3 separate regions of the Homo sapiens genome follow, and all the other regions are linked to region 1. Evidence: promoter capture Hi-C in human tissues and cell types (Jung and others, 2019). All regions are on one chromosome and are shown on one strand. The core of a region is centred on a gene start or on the middle of the fragment in contact, and the rest is flanking DNA. Distances in the headings are between cores, read along the strand shown.

Region 1 (3,322 bases), core at 719-3,218:
GAGTGAGAATTCCCCAGGAGTGCAGAGGTTCTCAGAACTGCAATACTCTGAGATGAATTTTGAAAGGTGAATCAGGGATAGAAAAAGTTATATAGGGAAGGCAGTCAATAAGCTTGTTTTAAAGGATATGGAGCATTTGAAAAAGTGGAATGTACATAAGGCTGGAAATATCAAATATCTAAATATAGAACAGGAACAGTGATGAAAAGACTTTCAAAATGCTTAGCAAAATGAGAATTATATTTCTTTCTCAACTCTTTTGTTCCAACAGCAAAAGCAACAGTGGGGATCAGCATCAACTTGGGTAAGTAAGTTTTTCTGGTCATAAATAGGCTGATTCAACTGAAAAAAATGTTTCTTTAAGAAGGGTGAATTTGTGTCTAAGGATTTTATGAGACTAACTGGGAAAAGTCAGTCAGAGTTTAGTTTGAGGTGAGAAGTGCTTACTGTTGACACTCTACCTAATTATAGGGAAATGTGTGCAGTTAGTCCTGAGACCAGATGCAGGGTTGAAAGAAAGAGGTGTGATGTAGCAGCCATTGATTAGGCAATTTGGGTTTAGCAAGCCCAGTCAATGCCCTCAGAGGGTCAACAGTGTATAAGATTTAGTCCTTGAAGGCATCTTTTAAAGTTTCATTCAGAAGATTTTAATAATTTTGACCATAATTTTCTGAGAAGAGGCTTTTCTGAGATTTGTCATTCACAGATAAACAGTTGTCTAATTTGTGTGTGTGTGTGTGTACATGTGTGCATGCGTGCATTTGTGCATGTGTGCCTATCTAGCCTCTTTTGAACACAATGGTAGATTGGCACCTGGTAGATAATATTGTTGAATGAATTGTATTATTCATATTATCTCACTGCCAATTTGAAGAATCTACATTCTGTTTCCAAAGTTTTGTGCATATAATACTAAACCAGAAACAGACGTGTTTTAGTAATACGTACCAATTACAAATTAACCATTCCTGCCTGGAATAAACACAGGTTTTGTTAAATAGCTCAATTTTCAAAATTTGTCTCATGTTATTTCCAATCCTTTTTTTTTTAACGCCGATATATTTTGAATTTACGAATGTGAAAGCTGAACTTCAAAAAAATAAAGGGAGAGGAAACAAAGCTCGTGAAAAATTTTAAAAATATCTTTTAATGCGTTATAACATCCTGGAGAGAAATCAAATCAATGTGTTTCAATGTTACAATATAGATTTCTCCTCCCCTCCCGGATAAAGCACTAATTTATTTAATTTGGTTCAGAGCACTGAATATTCCAAGCTACAGCCTTGTGGGTAAGAGCATTATCTTAAAGAGTGTTCGGATTTAACAAAGGTCAATGTCTTGTGCAGTTTACATAGTATCTACTCTCAGTAGCTTTTGCTTCTTGAGCTCTAGGTGGCTCCTCAGAAGCTGTTAGGCTTAACAAACAAAAATAAAGTAAAATCAGACACGGTATGGGGCCTTGGGACTCTAAAACCTTCATCCGGAGAAAATCAGTTAAGCCTTCAGAGACTAGAAGAGAGAATGTGTGTGATTGGTAGGCAAAGCAAAGAAAGATTAACACAAGTTGTCTGGCAGCTGGATAAAACCTTACACCTGCGCAAAAATAAGCCTCCCTCGTAAGAAAGCCCAAAGATGTCCGGGGTCCGGGAGGAGAAAAGTGTTTCTCATCTGTCCCATCAAAGCAAATTAGTGAAACCTGCCTCAGGTGAAGTGCAAAGGCCAGTCTGTAGGCAGAGTTTCGACCTCTCCCCACGAGATTGGCTAGACATCACCTGCCCAAGCTCTCTCCCGACCTGCTAGAGCCGAGAGGGCGGAGGCCGGAGAGGCTGCAGCCGGGAAGTAGCACCGCCACCGCACATCCGGGAACGCCAGCAGCCGGCTGAGGGCTGCATAACTGATGGAGGGCCGGGCGCGGTAAGAGCGTCTCGGGGGAGTGGGGCAAGGCGGCCGGGCCCCTCCCATTCCGCCTTTTCTTCAGCGTCCTACCCGCGGCACTGGCTGCGAGCGCCGGGCCACCTGCGAGTGTGCGCAGGGACTCTGGACACCCGCGGCGGCGAGCTGAGGGAGCAGTCTCCACGAGGACCCAGGCGGACCCTCTGGCGCCATGCGCGCCCTCCCCGGCCTGCTGGAGGCCAGGGCGCGTACGCCCCGGCTGCTCCTCCTCCAGTGCCTTCTCGCTGCCGCGCGCCCAAGCTCGGCGGACGGCAGTGCCCCAGGTGTGATGGGTACAGGGTCCAGGGTAGGGAGGGCGGAGGGCGCGCGAGGCTCGGGTCCCCGCGGGCAGAGGGCATCGCCGGCGCGCCGGGCAAGGGTGGCGGGGAGAGGCGCGGGGATGCTGGTAAGGGCGGGTGGGAGAGTCGGCGGCGGCCTCCCATTAGCTACGTTTGTGTCACCTAAGCTGAACCCTGAAACTGCTGCGGCTCGCGTTCCTGCGCTCTTTGGGGCGAGTCTTGAACGAACAGCGCCCCGCGAGTCGGGCGCGTAGGTAACAGGGCAGAGTCTGGTTTTTCCTAGGAAGAAGGCAGTGGGGTGTGTGGGTGGTTGCAGGGACCAGCTAGCGACTTGGCTTGGGCAAATATGGCATGAATTTTGAAAGCCACATTTCCCCAAGGCCTACTCCCTTTTCTTGATTCGAGAGTAAGGCTCGAGTATCACCTCCTTCCCTCCTCTTGGCAGGTGGGTTGGCTTTGAGGATTTTTTTTTTTTTTTTTTTTTTTTTTTTGAGACGGAGTTTTACTCTTGTTGCCCAGGCTGGAGTGCAATGGCGTGATCTCGGCTCACCGCAACCTCCTCCTCCCGGGTTCAAGCGATTCTCCTCTGTCAGCCTCCAGAGTAGCTGGGATTACAGGCATGCGCCACCACGCCGGGCTAATTTTATATTTTTAGTAGAGACTGGGCTTCTCCACATTGGTCAGTCTGGTCTCGAACTCCCAACCTGAGGTGATCCGCCCGCTTCGGCCTCCCAAAGTGCTGGGATTACAGGCGTGAGCCACCTCACCTTGCCGAGGATGTTTTTTTAGAGCTGAGTAGGGGAAAAAACATCATAACCAACTAGCCAACCAAAGATCCACAACTTACAGGATAACGTGTGTGTATCTTCATTTTACACCGTGGTCTTTGAAAACAAAATGTGTGTGTGCATGTGTGTGTGTGTATGTGTGAGATTTTTGCTTGTTGTTTTATTGTTTAAGACACTTTGACAGAGGGATTACGTGCAAAACATTAACAAAGCCAACACGAAAGTTGCCATTCTACCTTCACCTGTTTATAATTACTTTTCATATTGAAAGGATTCCATCCAACCTATTGCAAGTTTCTGTGT
Region 2 (3,460 bases), core at 804-3,303, 290 kb before region 1:
ACACAAGCAAAAACACTTTCTAATATCTTAATGTATTTCTGTATGTGCTCACTTTAAGAAAGCATTTAAAATGTTTATTTGACAATGCTTGCATTCTCAAATGCATATAGCTCCCTTCTTTTCTCACTCTGCATTGTAAAATGAATTCTGTTCAGCTAACCGACATTTAATAAAAGATAGAAAATGTTTCAAGGCCAAGCTTAATAGTCCTAATGTATACTTTTTTCCTTTTAAAACCAATGAGTATTTTTATGTTTAAAGTCTGCAAGGTGACAAGAAGGATACTGAAGCTGTCATCAGTGTCAAGAAGGAGTCCAAATTTATCAGTAAAGAAGAGAAGGAAAAACATTTGAGACAGCTAATCTTGAAGAGATGGATGGAAGATGCCTGAGGAGATATTCACACCTAACTGAAAAGAAATAACTCAGAAAGAGTAAGCTTTCTGAACGGCAAGAAAAACAAAATTTATTCCCAGAACACTCACAGACCTAGAGTTACAAAATGGACCATCTATCTGTTCCTTTTATTTTACACGCAAGAATATTAAGGCTCAGAGAGGTCTATCAATTTGTCCTAGTTACACAGCACTTGGTCCAGAACTTAGTTCTCCTTTGGTCCAAATACCTTTCATTACATTTTATCATTTCAACACTTGTTTAATTCAGTTTGTACAGCATATTTAGCAACTCATCAGAAATCAATTTAAAACAATTATGCAATGTATTAAATAGCCAAGTGTGAAAAAAAAGTTTTTTCCCCTGTATGCTCTTTCCTTAGCAAAGCAAATTCTGTGAAAGGAGGCATATCTCACTCCATTTGGCATTACTTTTGCAAATTGATTAGTTATCCAGAGTTCCTATAACAATGAGATGACCCTACTAAAAACTATTTTTACTTAGTTCATAGTCACCAAAGCAGTAGGAAAACAAAAATTTATCTAGTTTTATTTTGTTAGGTGAATGAGATTTTCACTTTAGAAGAGGAGCAATTTTGAACAACCGCACACTAATGTGTTCCATAAGACTGGACCATAAAATTATCACATATCTAAGTAAATTTATGAGAAAAAATGTTTAACTCTCAGTCAGTTCCAATAAAAATTAGATAATAAGTTGCCTTTTTCAACATCAACAAACATCTTTGATTTGTCTCATCACATTTTTAAGTATTTTTCAGGTACATATATATCTCCAATATAAAATATGGAAAAACTTAGTCTAAAATATTTATTATACAATTTCATTTTAAGAGTGACATCAAAATTATACTTTATACATTATGCAACATTTTAAACTTTGATGGAGAAGTTATCAACTCAAAAACAGCTAACTTCCTTGATATTAAAATACTTTAAATATTAAAATATTAGTTTTGTTTTCTCTTTGGGACATATTTCTAATAGTGGTCTCAAAAAAGGAAAGGAAAGACAACGAATTCTGGGAGAGCAGTAACTGACTTATTTGGGTGCCAAAAAAAAAAAATTCTGTGTAGTTCTTTAGGAACTGAGGAAACTATGGGACCTTAATTTAAACGTGTGATTCCTATGAAAACAAGGGCCCACCATAACAATAGACAGATTGATAAACTGCAAATTAAGTTGCACTCTGAATGTCATAGAGACAAAAAAATGAAAATGATGTCAATTTTAAAAGATAAATCAAAATGCTATTAAAACCTTCTCAAAACTCAAAATGTTAAGATCAACAGAATCATTTTTATGAGCTAATTCACAGATAAATTCAAGTCAGTCTAATTGCAATAGCATCAATTCATCACTTATACCCAACTCTAAAATTACAATATCAATGAAGCTTCTGCACTGGATGTTGTCAATTAATAAAGGGAACAGGGAAATGCCTTAGAAATATTCATTAGAATTGATAGGAAATACTTAAGCCATCATTTACTTCTACCTAGAAAAATGACACAGAAGCAATCAATGCTGGCACTCCCAAGGTCTCGGCACTGGCAAGAATTTTGAATTCAAAAATTAACTCTCACTGATCATTAGTAGTTGGAACTCACACATTCATTCAACCAATTATGAAGTAAATGATTACTGAAGACCCACTCTGTGCCAACACAGGTGGAAAGTAAAAATAGACAGGGGCCTTGAATTCAGAAGTTTCTAGTCCAGCAAGGGAAAACACAATTAAAGTATCACCCAAATAAATGAAAATTATAGTTGTAATTTTCAACTCTGAAGGCGGACCACACCATGTATTGTGGCATCACATAAGGGCCCCATAACTTGACAAAGGGTACCAGGAAAGTTTCCTGCAGGATGCGATGATGGGACAAAAATACGTGGATGAGTAAAAGAAAATAATTGCGGAATTTGAATATACCATCCTCATTCTTCAAAATTTTCACTTTTTCAGCCTTATAGTTCCAAATTAAATGTAGAATCCAAACTTCCCTTTAGTGGTTATTATATTTTATTTCTCTATGTAGCCCCTGGCACAGTGGAAGGTATAGACCATAACTGACATTCACACATTCTGTCAAAATTAACTAAAAACAAGCCTACAAGCCATGTACATTAACAGAAGTATTTTACTTTTGAACAATATAGTCCACACGTACTCTGGCCAAAAGCTGGATCAAAGCAGTTGACATACTACCTAAACAAAGAACAAAAATATGAAAACAGGGACAAAGTTTGAGTGGATCCATGTCCATTTTTTCAAAAGAACACCAAGTCCGGGTGGGAAGTGGGAGCAGGAGCGGGGACTGGGTACACTCCAACAACAGAAGGGAGTAGTTGGCACGCAAAAGCCAGGTCTGACTCACAACGTGTCTAAATGTGCCTGCAGTTCTTAGTACAAGGAAGTATCTCAAATGTTCATCTAAAGAAGGGTAAAGGAAGTCATAAAAATACTACAGCCCACTGATAGGTAGAAAACTAAAGATAAAATGATTACCAAAAACTATTATCAGAGCTATGCCCTGTCCCTCACAAAATACTACTATACAAAGGAATTGCCTGTGTTTTTCTCACAACCTTCAGAAAGACCCTGGAAAATTTCAGATGGTTTTGATTTATGACTGTAAATGTCATCTTTACCAGATAGCATGAGATGGCCTAGTCCTCAAATGAGAGAGTAGTTCCTAACGACACAATCTTTGGGTTATTTCCACAAAAAGAATTAATATAGGAAACAGAGAGATGTGTTATTCTAAAATACAAATTTCCTCTACAATATTTCCACCCAACCTACCAAATAAAGCAGTCTTGCTTTAGAAGCAAGCAGAATGGCCTGTAGCATGAGGACAGAGATGATCCACAGTTGACAGGCCCTAGACCGTCTCCTTTGTACTTGCATATGACCAGCCTGCACAATTCCCAGTGGTTTTGCCCTTCTCAGAGAATATTCAGGAGCCAGCAAGTCTACATGAGACCAGTGGGCAAAACAGCTCCCTTGTGGGATTTCCCACACTGGGGTAAAGGAATTTCCTC
Region 3 (3,380 bases), core at 32-2,531, 420 kb before region 1:
ACATCAGGGTCCAGGAGGTGAAGGAGATCTCTTTACATGAACAGTCTACAGAAATCTTGAGTAAGGCTTTGGATTTCCACAGTGCATTGACCTAGGCATTTAAGCCAATCATATCTAAATTCAAATGGCAACAAAATATTTTTAAAAATCTTTCAAAGCAGGTGATGCTACAGTCTCTGTGCTTCACAAATCCAAGTTATCATTATTGGCTACCACTCCTCCATATGCACAGGCAATAAGTCAGGTATTCCTTCCAGTAATTGGGGCTACAATGTAAACTTAGCAAAGCTTCCAGATTAACACATTTGTAAAAACAAGACTTCCTAATAACCTGTCATCTGCTTTCCCAATTTCTCTATAATTTTAGTCTGTAGATGACATTCTTGTGGAGTTTTAGGTGACTGTCATATTGCAGCCATCTGGCAGCCTGTTTAAGAAGCACAACTCTGACATTATAAGATGATGAATCAGTGGTTAAAAACAAAACAAAAGGTGGTTGATGTTTATTGTAATACAATCTTATAAAATCTGAGAGTATTAACTAATTAGTATTTATAAAAGCATCTTCAAACTGAAATATCCATTACCATTGAAAATCATTTTAACTAGATAAAATATTTCCCCAAGTTGTTTTTTTGTGACACAAAATAAAATAGTGGACATTCAATGATTATAAAATGCTTGTTTGCTTTTAGAATGGGCATATCATGGATATCAGGGTTTTTTGTGCGTGCTTATGTAATTTCCTTGCTAGTAATTTTTCAGTAGTTCTTCATGATAAATCTAAACTCCTTAGGTTGGACATGAATTCTTTTGTAGTCTAAACCTGATCATCTTTTAATTTAACTCCCATAATACTCAGACAGTAATTTTATATCCTACTTGTGAGGAAATACTAAGTAGGGTCCTGAGCTCTCATACCTTTCTCTTTTTTGTCTTTTTGTTCGACTCATGTTTTCCAATACTTGAAAAGCATTGCTTGTTGTTCACCTGAAAATTTCTTCTTCAAAATTCAGATCTTCCTAAGTTCTCAAACACACCAAGAATTTTTTTCTTCTATGTCCCTGTAGTGCATATCCATTTAATCATGTATAATGTGTATGTATTATAACAACCTGTACAACTATTTCACCCCATTTATCTATTTGTTCATTTAAATATGTGTTAGGGCAGGGTGTGGTGGCTCACACCTGTAATCCTAGCACTTTGGGAGGCAGAGGCAGATGGATCACTTGAGGTCAGGAGTTTGAGACCAGCCTGGCCAACATGGTGAAACCCCATCTTTAATAAAAATACAAAAATTAGCCAGGCATGGTGGCTGCACCTGTAATCCCAGCTACTCGAGAGACTGAGGCAGGAGACTTGCTTGAACCTGGGAGGCAGAGGTTGCAGTGAGCCGAGATTACACCCCTGCACTCCAGCCTGGGTGACAGAGTGAGACTGTCTCAAAAAGAAAAAAATAATTATATATATATGTGTGTGTGTGTGGTAGACTCACAAATAAACATGTGGTAGACTCTGTTCTAGGCACAGAAAATACAGCAGTTATCTTAATCAGGTTCTAAAATAGAAAGTATTTTGAATATTTACAACAGAGGGGGTTTAAAGCGGAGTATTGGTAATTCAGGTGATGGAGGAGACTAGAATCCAAACAGGGCCCATGGAAGCAGCCAGAAGTTAATAATAGGAAATCACCAGCATCCCAAGACTGGGGAAGCTGAAAGAGGTGATGCTGCAAGAGCCAGGAGCTGTGGTCACCCTTCATAAACTGGAACCATGACTACCTGCCTATGAAAGCTACTAGCCTTTGAAAGCTACCTGAAACCATGTGGGAGAAACAGCTTCTATTGGAGAGGCCATCACAGGAACAAACTGAGGGAGAAATACCCTGGCTGCTCCTTTCTCCTGTTCTTCAATCAATCAGTCCTTTCTATTGTTATTAGTTAATTTGGAAACCCTCGATGAAAAGAGCCTGAGAAGTGTCATCTGTAGGTTTGTAACTCGCAGTGGTACAGAGCACAGCAGAGGAAGAGTGCAAAATGGATTCTAAGGCAAAAATGCCCAGGTTTGGAACCGTGGTGAAAAATCAGAAACATTTTCTCAGCCTTCACAAAACAGTCTAAGCATTTCATTCTATTTCATCTCTGTATTCCTAACTCCTTTTGTGGCAATTGCACATTATAAGTGGCCAATATACATCTTGATTACCTTAATAGATAAATGGAAACAGGTACAAAATAAATAGTCATTTTGATCTCACGGTTCCTTCCACAACTCTGACAAACTGCTTCACAGGAAGACACTTTGAATGGCAGTTTTATCACATGATGTCAAATAAGCAGAACATAGCTTTCACTTCCCTCGTGTGGGCATTTGAGTTCTCTATACATATTGAATTTTCTCTGGTGTTTTGCTTTAGGCCTCATAAATCTCATATCATTCCAAGGCTTCATAGTCCTGAGGATTATCAGTGTCACTGTATTCCAGGTGATGTAAATTGTTGTGACAATTTCCAGGTTTCATTCTGTTGTATTTTGCAGGACAGAGCCTGTCCCAACAGCCCTTCTTGCAGATGTTGCATTCAACACTCTATGAGAGGATCACTGGATTTCCCTTGTGCAATCTGGGCATGAGATGGGCATTGGAATTGATCGCAAGCTTTTCTGGAGCAGACATTTCCAAGATTCTGTTGAACTTGTTGGCAAACTCTCTGAGTGTTATGAGTAGCATTTAGATTAGCAGCTGTTCCTCTTATTCCTATAAAGATTTTCTCCCTGGCCAATGTCTTTTTCTGAGCCATTCTAAATGCCAAAATTGATTCAAAAAATATGGATGGAGAGATTGTATGAACACTGCATACAAAATGATTCAGTTCAGTAAACATTTTGGCATGTGGATTCTGTGCTTGGAACTGTGCTGAGCAGAGGGTGAGGGAGACAAAATCACAGAGCAGTTAAAAATGTGAGCTTGAATTGGATGGTTTTGATTCCACTGTTCACTGAATATGTAACCTAGGGCAAATTGCTGTCTTTTTGCATTGGTCTTCTAATACATAAAAAGGGGATAATAATGGTATCAACCTAAAAGATTATTTTAACTATTACATGAACTAAGGCATGTGGCATGGTGAGAACAATGCCTTGTACATAGTGTTGGTCATCATCATCGTCATCCTTATTTAAAAGCACTGCAGAGTCTGCACACTGCTGAAGGGCAAGGATTGAGGCGCCTCCACCTTTGCATCCCCCCAGTGCCTAGCACAGTACCTGGGCCACAGTAGCTATTCCCATTTTTAAAAATTATTCAGATGTAGTGAAATGCTTCAAATTGCTTACTATATCCTATTAGAACATGCCCTAATTTTCATCCCTGATTCATTC

Evidence for each region. Contacts are between HindIII fragments. The study calls those that stand out against the background at their distance.
Region 2: a fragment that was not itself captured here is called in contact with the fragment with the promoter of EMB in region 1 in 1 of the 25 tissues and cell types used here (lymphoblastoid cells).
Region 3: a fragment that was not itself captured here is called in contact with the fragment with the promoter of EMB in region 1 in 1 of the 25 tissues and cell types used here (dorsolateral prefrontal cortex).

What each region holds. Positions count from the first base shown.
Region 1 is chr5:50,439,934-50,443,255 of GRCh38, reverse strand. It overlaps EMB (embigin), which reads left to right and starts at 1,968. Exons shown (of 9, transcript NM_198449.3): 1 at 1,968-2,216. The coding sequence starts at 2,105. RefSeq lists silencers at 2,025-2,154, 2,235-2,424. The HindIII fragment of the contact is 6,914 bases long and covers 1-2,991 here.
Region 2 is chr5:50,726,605-50,730,064 of GRCh38, reverse strand. The region is part of intron 2 of PARP8 (poly(ADP-ribose) polymerase family member 8); the gene reads right to left. Among named protein-coding and RNA genes, the nearest start is that of PARP8, 62 kb to the right of the region's middle. The HindIII fragment of the contact is 3,467 bases long and covers 320-3,460 here.
Region 3 is chr5:50,855,894-50,859,273 of GRCh38, reverse strand. No RefSeq gene overlaps it. Among named protein-coding and RNA genes, the nearest start is that of LINC02106, 110 kb to the left of the region's middle. The HindIII fragment of the contact is 3,727 bases long and covers 1-3,144 here.